Regions from separate parts of the Homo sapiens genome. Here region 2 is linked to region 1. The links are contacts of gene promoters, found by promoter capture Hi-C in human tissues and cell types (Jung and others, 2019). All regions are on one chromosome and are shown on one strand. Each heading gives the region's core, a stretch centred on a gene start or on the middle of the fragment in contact. The rest is flanking DNA. Distances are from core to core; before and after follow the strand shown. Region 1 holds the start of PRLHR (prolactin releasing hormone receptor). Region 2 has its middle 9.6 kb from the start of EMX2.

Region 1 (5,334 bases), core at 740-3,239:
GATCAAGACCATCCTGGCCAACATGGTGAAACCCCGTCTCTACTAAAAATACAAAATCATCTGGGCATGGTGGCACGTGCCTGTAGTCACAGCTACTCGGGAGGCTGAGGCAGGAGAATCGCTTGAACCTGGGAGGCAGAGGTTGCAGTGAGCTGAGATCACACCACTGCACTCCAGCCTGGCGACAGAGCAAGACTCCGCCTCAAAAGAAACAAATAAACAAAAATTAGTCAGGCATGGTGGTGTGCACCCGTAGTTCCAGCTACTTGAGAGGCTGAGAGGTGGGAGGATGGCTTTGGCCTGGGAGGTTGAGGCTGCAGTGAGCCATGATTGTGCCACTGCACTCCAGCCTGGGTGACAGAGTGAGATCTTGTCCTAACATATACATGTATATATACACACACACTGGTTTTAGCTAAATTGATTATAACTCAGGGACCGTGAGCTTAGGATGGACAGAGGTGCATAACATTGATTACTTTTGTTCCAATATTGACTTTTTTCTATATGAGTGATTCATTTAAATTTGGAGGGTGGAATAAATTGATATTAGTTTCCAGTCTAACTGGAATATCTGCAGCCAGAGGACAAAGTACAAGGACTTATCAGAGAGGAGACAATGAAGCTCCATGCTCTGGAAAAAGGAAACAAGAGGCTGAGGGAATGAGATAGCTTCTAAGGAGGGAGCTTACAAAGGCCCCTCCTCCCCTGGCTCTTGCCCCGTGGGCCAGGCTAATTTGCATTTCAATGAGGACTTAATACTACTGAAGATTTTATGAAACGCCTAAGCTTCTCAAATGTTTGTTACTTTTGTTACCCTAGCTGAAATCTGCAATTACCAGTATTTTTAAAAAATCCTAAAATGAAGAGAAGAGGCCTGTGGGTGTTCAGTCAAGGAGGGAGGGGTCAAGTCTCAGTCCAGGAACTACTCTGTGCTGGGAGAAGCAGCCAGATACGGCACAGGTCGCGGTAGCCGAGAAAGAAAGCGAGAGAAAGGGTGAGCCGGGGAGTCGCTGGGCCAGACTGAAGTGTGCCTGTGTAGAATAACTGGCAGGAGAGCTGCATTTTCTGACCCCGGGAGGTAAAAGACGACGCCGTCCTTGGCACTGAGTGCGGTGACCACCAAGAGGAGCAAAAGTCATGAGTCTCCGACCCCCAGGCCCCCGGCTCAGCTGCCTCCACTCCACCCTACTCTTCTCAGCCCCAGCCCAGAAAGCAGGCAGCGAGGCAGGTCTTTGAACCGGACCAGGTTCCTTCCCCAAACACCCGGATCCAGAGAGGGGCAGGAATTCCCTAGTCATTTTCCCCTGCTCCTCCCCACATCATCCGCCCGAGGGGCGGCAGATCCAGCGGAAGCTGTCCGTGGTGCTGACTCCTGCCTTTGGCTTGGCCGGACCCGCTGCCCGCTGAGCGCGCTGCAGCCAAGCAGGGGGCTCGTGTGGCGGGGCCACGGGAGGGTGAGGGTCCTCAGGTCCGCGACCAGCTCCAGGCTCTGCTGTTAAATCCCAGCCCGAGCCCTCTAGCGTCTCTGCCCTCCGCAACCTGGCCGCTAGGCAGGATCCAGCCTTTAAGAACGGGTCAGTCGTGCCTCTCTCAAGCCCCCAGCTGCATTGCAATCTCCCACCGCTACTTCCTTCCCCGCTCCTTCCCTCCTAAGACTGCACCGGCTCCTCCCGATAGCCTGACGCTTCGCGCCTCTCCTCCGCCCTCCTCCACTGTGCGCTCCTCCGGACCCTGACCCTCCAGGGGCCGTGCAAGCTCCTGCAGTAGAGATTCGTCCTCTTCGCTGCTCTGGCCAGGTTTGCCGGCCCCTCCTCCCGTTTCGGATTCCATCCTCCCCACACTGTCCTCTTCACTAGTTCTCTAAGCACCGAGCATGGCAGAGCGCGCTCCACCCCTATTTTCCATACATGGGAGCTGGAGTGGGGGGCGGAGCTGAGGGGAGGCGCTCCCAGTCCCTCTAAGAAGCTGCTAGCCCACTGGGAAACATTTGGATCCGTTCAGCTCCCGCGGAGAAGCGAGACCGGATCACCGACGTGGGCAGAGGACTACCGAGGGCCAGCAGAAATTCTGCCCCTTCTTCCCGCGAGTGCTTTCCCGCTCTCCAAACCCCACTCCCAGGTAGGATCGCGCTCCTGAGTCTGCCTGCGTGGACTGCGAGGACCGTAAATAGAGGCGGAAGCGTTTAAATAAACCGTATGTTCTAACCGTGCTTAGGTTTATTTTACAGAGGTGAGAGGACAACACTTTTTGCTACTTTTGCTGTTGTTCTGTGGCCGGTTATTCCCAAGGGAGGACTCAGGCGATGGGGGAGGGGCGCGGCTGGTGTAGGAGGTCGGATGGAGTATGGCAAGGGAAGTGACGGACTTTGATTACCTTTGAACAGGTGGCCATGGCCTCATCGACCACTCGGGGCCCCAGGGTTTCTGACTTATTTTCTGGGCTGCCGCCGGCGGTCACAACTCCCGCCAACCAGAGCGCAGAGGCCTCGGCGGGCAACGGGTCGGTGGCTGGCGCGGACGCTCCAGCCGTCACGCCCTTCCAGAGCCTGCAGCTGGTGCATCAGCTGAAGGGGCTGATCGTGCTGCTCTACAGCGTCGTGGTGGTCGTGGGGCTGGTGGGCAACTGCCTGCTGGTGCTGGTGATCGCGCGGGTGCGCCGGCTGCACAACGTGACGAACTTCCTCATCGGCAACCTGGCCTTGTCCGACGTGCTCATGTGCACCGCCTGCGTGCCGCTCACGCTGGCCTATGCCTTCGAGCCACGCGGCTGGGTGTTCGGCGGCGGCCTGTGCCACCTGGTCTTCTTCCTGCAGCCGGTCACCGTCTATGTGTCGGTGTTCACGCTCACCACCATCGCAGTGGACCGCTACGTCGTGCTGGTGCACCCGCTGAGGCGGCGCATCTCGCTGCGCCTCAGCGCCTACGCTGTGCTGGCCATCTGGGCGCTGTCCGCGGTGCTGGCGCTGCCCGCCGCCGTGCACACCTATCACGTGGAGCTCAAGCCGCACGACGTGCGCCTCTGCGAGGAGTTCTGGGGCTCCCAGGAGCGCCAGCGCCAGCTCTACGCCTGGGGGCTGCTGCTGGTCACCTACCTGCTCCCTCTGCTGGTCATCCTCCTGTCTTACGTCCGGGTGTCAGTGAAGCTCCGCAACCGCGTGGTGCCGGGCTGCGTGACCCAGAGCCAGGCCGACTGGGACCGCGCTCGGCGCCGGCGCACCTTCTGCTTGCTGGTGGTGATCGTGGTGGTGTTCGCCGTCTGCTGGCTGCCGCTGCACGTCTTCAACCTGCTGCGGGACCTCGACCCCCACGCCATCGACCCTTACGCCTTTGGGCTGGTGCAGCTGCTCTGCCACTGGCTCGCCATGAGTTCGGCCTGCTACAACCCCTTCATCTACGCCTGGCTGCACGACAGCTTCCGCGAGGAGCTGCGCAAACTGTTGGTCGCTTGGCCCCGCAAGATAGCCCCCCATGGCCAGAATATGACCGTCAGCGTGGTCATCTGATGCCACTTAGCCAGGCCTTGGTCAAGGAGCTCCACTTCAACTGGCCTCCTAGGGCACCACTCGAGGTCAATCTGGTGCTTATTCTCAGCACCAGAGCTAGCTAAGCCAACATAGGGCAACATTTCCAGCCCAGCCCTCTTGTCCGGCTGTCTGTCTTGTCCTTGTGTGTTTGTAAAATGTTAAGCGGGCTTTGGTGAGAGTCTTGCTCTTTGCTTGGGGGAGGCCAAAGAGAGGGAAGAGGATTTCTTATTTCTTCTTTATGCCCTTGAAGGACAAACAAAACTTTTTCTCCACGTTCAGAAAAGTATTTCAGAACCACGATTGCCTTCCTGGCGTCCCCTCCTCCTGCTCGTTGGTGAAATGAACAATATGAATGGGATTTAAAAGGAATGCATTGGGCTTGGTAAAGATTTTCAGTTTGCCTTTAGAAAAAGGACCCAGCTGAGAGTACCATGATATTGCTTAGTCCATTTGAACCCTTGCATTCCTAGAATTTCAGGTAAATATGTATTAAAACTCTACATCTAGGATTTCAGCATTTCCTGAGTAAGACCTTTATATGCCAAAAGGGTTTCGTTTTAAAACCACTTGAGTTTATAGTACAAAAACACCTACAAGCTCCCTTTAGAAAGGTCTTGCTATTGTTTCTCCCCTTTCCTCCCCAACTACTATTTAAAAATGATGAGACGAATTAGTCAATGAAGAGATAGATAAATAAAGAGGAAAAGGTCCAATTCACTTAAGAGGTCATTCAATTGTACCTAAGGACAGACATCCTCTGTGTATGTGTGTTTGTGTATGTGTGTGTATGTGTGGGTACACATTCAGTGTTTGCCACAAAGTGGGCACTCAAATATTTGGTTTTCTGAATACTCAATGTAAACTGTGTAGCGTGGCATTCTCCTGCAGTCTCTAATTGCTCACTTGCAACAGATCAACAGCTGTCATCTGACTGCTCAGCACCTGCTCTGTAGTGATTCTTGGAACATGATCAACCCAGAAATCAAGGACCGGCAGAAGTTTACTTAAGGACAGAACAGAAGAATAAGCTACCACCCACATGATGTGTAGATCAAACACTAATTACCTCCAGGGTTAAGGGAAAAGGTGAAGACTGTGGAGCATGATACCAGGCTGATAATCATCACCTTAACCTCCTGTGAGTTCTGTAAATGAGGACAAGTGCCTTGGGACAAAGGTCTCCACACTGTTGGAAAAGCAACTTGGGCAGTGAGGGCAGGAGTCTTGGGAAATGATACATAATATCCAGCTGTCAGATCAGCCTCTGTGTTCCCAGTAACTCAGTCACCATCTGTAGGGTTCAACTACTTTCCCAGCTCACTGAACACAAGAATCACTGTTTCACCTCCTCCTGCTTCTCTTATTCAGAAATAAGCTCAATTCATTCATTAAAATGTGCCCTAAAAGGAAAGGAAAGAGGGATGATATGGGAATGACAAGGGTTCAATCCTATTACATTCATGTCAACAACCATGGTGGGAGTGGGAGTGATCACGGTTGGGCTGGTTGGCATAGGAATCTTTAGTAGTTACAGGGCTAGACTTTTTGCACACAGTAAAGGGTAGGAAAGGCTGGCTTGGGAGAAAGGAAAAGGCAGGCAAAGATGGGTATGGAGGTTACCTCTGGCAATGGTGCTAAATGAACTTGAGCTTCATCCGTGGATTGGAGAACAAAGAACCTGTGTGCTAATAGTGCAACCCACCCCTGCCCCAGATAAGCTCATCTCCCAGGCATCCCGAGGACTGGCTCCTGTGCTTCCAGCAGCTATATTACTTGGGAGGCTCAGGGCCAGACATTTCTCATTTCCT
Region 2 (5,334 bases), core at 964-3,463, 1.1 Mb after region 1:
CAGCCGCCCGCACTCAAGCCAAGGAGAAAAGGCAGGGGAGAATGCCCTGCAGGTGGGCCGGGGTGCACGCGCAAGGTTTGCCCGGGCGGCCCCACTTAATGTCACTCTGGCTCTTGCCTCGTATGCACCCGCTCACCGTTGACCCCCGGGCCGCTCTTCCCGGCCTCAGGCCCTGCCCTCTTTCTTCTTCCTGGTTTAGCTCCTGCGGTCTCCAGCCCCGAGTTTAGGACTGGAAGGCGGAGGGTGGTCGGTGGCCTCGCCGCTGCCAGTGAGCCGAAGCTCGGGCAGGGCAAGCGCTGCGTGGCGGCAGCTGAGACTCCGTGCGCCCCGTATCCCCACGTCGCTCGCGTGGGCGACTCACAGCGGCCGGGAAACCTCTGCTGGTGGCCACAGAGCAGCGCCTGCGCGGGCGGGCGGGAAAACGGGTGCTTCCAACCGCAGCCAGCGAGGCGGCCCCAAGACCCCTCGTCCAGCGTCTTCTTCCCCGGCTCTGCCCCGCCTGCGCGGAGAGAGCTGCGGGACAGAAGAATGGACAGGGACTGGGACCTTCCGAAGGGGCTCACGGGGGTCTGACCACGACCACTCCCCCATCGCGGGCCCTGAGAAGACCCCAACTCTCTCTGGGAGCAGCCGCAGCTTTGCCGGACCAGGAGGCCCTAATTACAGACGGGCTCTGCTGCAACTCGTGGGGGCCCGGCCCCCAGGGGAGAGCGAAGGAATACTCTAGTTCTGGCCCCCGCAGCTGCCCCCGCCCCCGGCCACACGCACATTCTGGGGCCCCTCGATCCTGGAGGTTGGCCATACCAGGCCCGGCTCCCCTGTTTGCATCCCCTCGGCGTCTGGGCGCGGGAAGGCTCCGTGCACCCCGCTTCTCCCACGGCCACGCGGAGCCCTCGGCTTCGTGGCCTGCCCCTGGCGTCTGGAGGAGACACCGCGAGTGAGGCCCGAGGGAGCCTCTGGGGACTCGCAGCAGCCGAAGCCCGCTTGGGCCTCGGAGGCCTCCTCTACGCTGGGCCCGAAGTGTCCTCCCACCCCTGGCGTGGACCCGGAGAGGCCCGACCGCGGCCGCCCTCCGCTTAGCCCCGGCCGCCAGCAGCTTGCCGGGGGCGGCGTGCGCAACAAAGGGTGGCATCGCAGCGGCGCGGACAGGGACAGCATTGATTCAATATTAGCTTTTCATTCCAGTCTATTGTGCCCATCTGAGATAATATTGACTCTGAGGTGAGAGCCCACAGACAACAGGGCTTGTCTAACACTCCGCTGCAGGGCGCTCGAAGGGAAGAGAACCAGAAAGGGCGAGTTAAAGAGAGTGCGAATAAAAGCTGCTCGCGCGGCGCGGTGGCCGCCGCTGGCGCCCAGAACCTCGGACCCGGGAACTGGGGGTCGTGGGAGGGCCGAGGGGTCTGGAGGTGGCTCTGAGGAAGGGAGCTGTGCTGTGCGTTCCCAACGAAAACAGCCCTCGCTTAACACACACTCCCATCTGCCAGACACTTGATGTTGAGGTTCCCCTTCTCGGTAGCTCTGGAGAAAAACTAATTCCCCCCACACACTGTTTTGGGTTGCTAGTAAGCCAGCAGCGGCCACTGAGATATTTTCCCCTTGTAAATGGTGTAACTCTTTAGGGTAACTTTTCTGTCAAAATGTTTCTTCTATTTCCCCAACCAGTGAAGAGTAAACACGCAGCAATTATCATTAAACTGCATTACTTGAGAGAGCGTGTTTAATATCAAATTTCTAACTGTGCATTTGGCTGTGCGTTCAATCGTCTCCTTCCAGCCCATCATTGAGTTCCCTAACTGCCTTTCTAACCGCAGCTTTAAAGGGCCTCTGGAACGTTCCAGTCTTGCATATAAAGATTCGTTTCAATTTTCAAATTGCCTCTAAATGCCTCCGTTGGAAAATGGCACTTTAAGTTGTTTTACGTGTCGGAGACAGAATACTTAGGCTTACACTCGGGGCACCAAACGCAAAACGCTCAGGGCTTGCAGTGAACCTGGTGAGTGTGCCCTCGGGTGTCATTTACAGAATTGGTGCCCTCCTCCCAATTGGAGTTTGACCTCTATCAGAGATAATCTCTTCACTCCTTTACCCCAATGAGGAGCTGGTCGTTTGAGATCTTTTCATCCACCCCAAAGGCACGTGGGCGCGTGGGGAACTGGGATAGGGTGAGGGCTGGGGTGGCTGCATCACTATGAGGAGACGCTGATGTGCTTCCCTCCTTCCCCTCCAGCGCCTTGTACTGAGCTGGTGCTCGGCGACAAGGAGCAGATCGGTACCTGGGCTATTTCAGAGGACACGATGTCTCCTATGTACCATCTATAACATAGATGTTCCGTTTGTATTATATGCTGTTTAACATATAAATATGTATTATGTGGTTTCATATCATAAATTAATATTTAACATCCAGTTCCGATATAATGTTGTTATATTACTTATCTAACAATGTTTTATCATATATTATTATACAATGTATGTTGTATACAATTCTAGATGTGTGTGTGTGTGAATGTATTTGGGAGAGCCTTTAATCTCCAAGTATGCATTTGATCATTTTAATGTAACTTTATAAAGTCCTAATCGAAGCCACTTTGAAACCAGCTATGTCTTTATAGCAAAATACCCTGGAGTCCACTGTCGGCTCTAGGACAAAGTTGGGGGGAAGGTAGCTGCTGTGAGGGACAGCAGGTCCCCATTGGAAAGTGATTTTCCAAATGTTTATTCCCCGGGGACAGAGGAGCCGATGTTCTGATGTTCTGGACTCCGCGGCCGTCTCCTGTCCTCGCTTGTGTTATGGTGGTTGTTTTGGTTTTGAGAGAGGCTGTTTAGAGGCTCTAGTGATCCCTAAACTGATGTCATGAATTAAAAATGAATGTGAGGAGTGCAGCATATGCTCGGCTGAGGAGTCTGGGAGCTCAGCGGAGGCCTTTCACCTCGGGTTCCGGGCTCCAGACGACAAACTGCAGGGCTCCAGCCTGGGTGCCCGATGCGGAGGGGCCTGGCAGAGCGGAGGCGCTGCGCGGGCTCCCGCAGGTCCTCTGCCCCAGCTCGCGGCCGCCCGTCCCTACCCCGGACTGGGAAAAGCTGTCTAGGGCTTGCATCGTTTACAGATCAGATGGTCCCAACTACAGTCTGCTTTTAATACCAATTGAGAGCTAAAATAAGCAAGCAGTCGGGAGTTCCCGTTGGAGGGCAGGGGCCAGGTGTGCTGGAGGAAAATAAAGTCGGAATTTCAGATGTCCTCACGTTATCGCTCCGTTAAAAGGCAAGAACCGCGCAAGTGATTTAGTTTAGGGAGGTGGGGGGAAAAAAGAAAAAAAGAGACGAAGTCAGGTGTAGCCAAAGAAAAGATCAGAAATGAGAACCGTCCTAACTTTACAGCTTAATAAACAGGAGGCTGCTAACTCAGAAGCTTGGGAGCTGGGGAAGGAAATTGGGCTGGTGAGGTGGGGAGGTAGGGAGGGTAGGCTCAGCAAAAGGGCAAGAGGGAGAGGAGACTGTCAGGATGCCGTGGGCTGTTTATTTCTCAAAAGCAAAAACCCCCAAACGGTTACCTGGTGAACATCTTGTAGAACAAAACAAAGAAACTTGGCTAAAACCTGGAACAGGCAGTTTAGTCTCCCCACTTCTGGCAAAACTTGAGGTTCAGTGAGGCCCAGAGCCCACTTGGGATCTGGTCCAGTTCCCAGCCTTGGGAAAGGTTGTTGTGGGTGTGGAAAAGTAGAGACAGTACCTCCCGGCTCTGTCCCTGAAGGGGCTCCCAGGCACCTGCTGGGATGAGCTGGGAAGTGGGTAGAGGGGCTGAGATCAGAGGAGGGAGGAGAATGTCTTCTTGTTGCTAAAAATAAAACAACCCACTCCCCTCACCCCAATGGCTGCAGTCTCTGGCCCTGGCAGCACTGGGAGGCCTCTGAACACGTACAGAATGGCAGGCCTTCCAGATGAGGAGCGGATTGCAGTGCCAACCATGTGGATGTGGGTCTTCCCCAGATGGGCTTGGGCACATCTGGCCTGTCTGCAGCATTTTCTGCATCCAGGTGATCCATCTCGTCCCTGCCCGGTGTAGTGGAGAACTTTATTCTGTGTTAGCACCAGCGTTCCTTATTTCTACCCTGTTCTCTGAGTCTCCATGATCCTGGTTTAAAGGGCAGCTGCCCGGGTGTGCTGAAAGCGAGATAGACTATATTTCATTTCTCATCTGCTGCCAGGACATCTCACATGAGAGATAATTCATTTCTATCACTGATGGCACCAGTCCCACGTACTGTGCTGAGCTCCCATTACGAGGATTTATTTCATCTCGTCCTCCCAGAAATCCATTGAAGTCTATTCCCATTTTCCATATGAGAAAACGGAGGCTCTAAGATGTTAAGACGTTCATCCAAGGTCACACACACAGCTAGTAAATGAGGACGTCTGGATTCCAACCCGGGTCTTTCTGACTCTAAAAGCTTTTCTTTCTCCCCGCTTCCCTACATCTGATTTCATATCAAAATGCCCACCTTTCCCCAAAGAGGAAGCCACTGGGTGAGGAAGGAGACAACACTTTGCTCTTTAGTCCTCCAAAAAGTCAATGACCATAGGATAAAGAGTCTGGATCCCACATCCCCTCCAGAGCATTTATTCCGACTCTGAAAGAGACAACAGACTACTGGCACATGGACAGCGTGGATGGTTTACAAATAGCCTGACCATACCTCACTTCAGTCACCTCTCCTACCAGCCCTGTGAGGTGGACACTGTCATTATTACCCCACTTAGAGAGGCAGGAATGGACTCAACGAGGTTGCACAAGTTGCTCACTCCCCATCCATTGTGCGCAGAGCCCTGGCTGTCCCATTCCAAGTCTCCCAGCTTTGTAGATTACCACATATGGGACCATTTAACCAATGAAGTTAGACCTTGCATTGTGTTGTGAAATTGCTAAGTTTTCTCTTTTTCATGTTTTAAGTATTCCTGCACATATTATTTCAGGACCCAACTTTTTCTGCATTTATTGCCTCTCTGAGACTCATACCTTTTCCATGTATGTACCCATTTGTACTGCGAAGCCATCAAGGAAACAGAACAAGGAGTTGCCCCTTATCTGTGGTCAGATGATACTGAGAGACCTATACTCAATGGTGTATAGGTTTTATGGATAACTCTATATTTTGCTCTATTACCATTTGCCTTACTTGTGTCACTCAAACTCAAATGTGTGGTCAAGGGTTTTCAATGGTATGGCTCTGTGTGTGTGTATGTGTGTGTGTGTGTGTGTGTGTGTGTGTGTGTGTGTTTCATGACTTTCAAAGTACAGTTAACTCTCGCTTTAGACAATGTTTTCTCTTTGCT

Evidence for each region. Contacts are between HindIII fragments. The study calls those that stand out against the background at their distance.
Region 2: a contact is called between a fragment that was not itself captured here and the fragment with the promoter of PRLHR in region 1, in 1 of the 25 tissues and cell types used here (spleen).

Annotation. Positions count from the first base shown.
Region 1 is chr10:118,592,303-118,597,636 of GRCh38, reverse strand. PRLHR (prolactin releasing hormone receptor) reads left to right here and starts at 1,989. Exons shown (of 2, transcript NM_004248.3): 1 at 1,989-2,121; 2 at 2,387-5,334. The coding sequence starts at 2,393. The coding sequence ends at 3,505. RefSeq lists enhancers at 604-1,412, 1,413-2,221, 2,222-3,030. The HindIII fragment of the contact is 7,132 bases long and covers 1-5,334 here.
Region 2 is chr10:117,530,470-117,535,803 of GRCh38, reverse strand. It overlaps EMX2OS. Among named protein-coding and RNA genes, the nearest start is that of EMX2, 9.6 kb to the left of the region's middle. RefSeq lists an enhancer at 1-928. The HindIII fragment of the contact is 5,626 bases long and covers 1-5,026 here.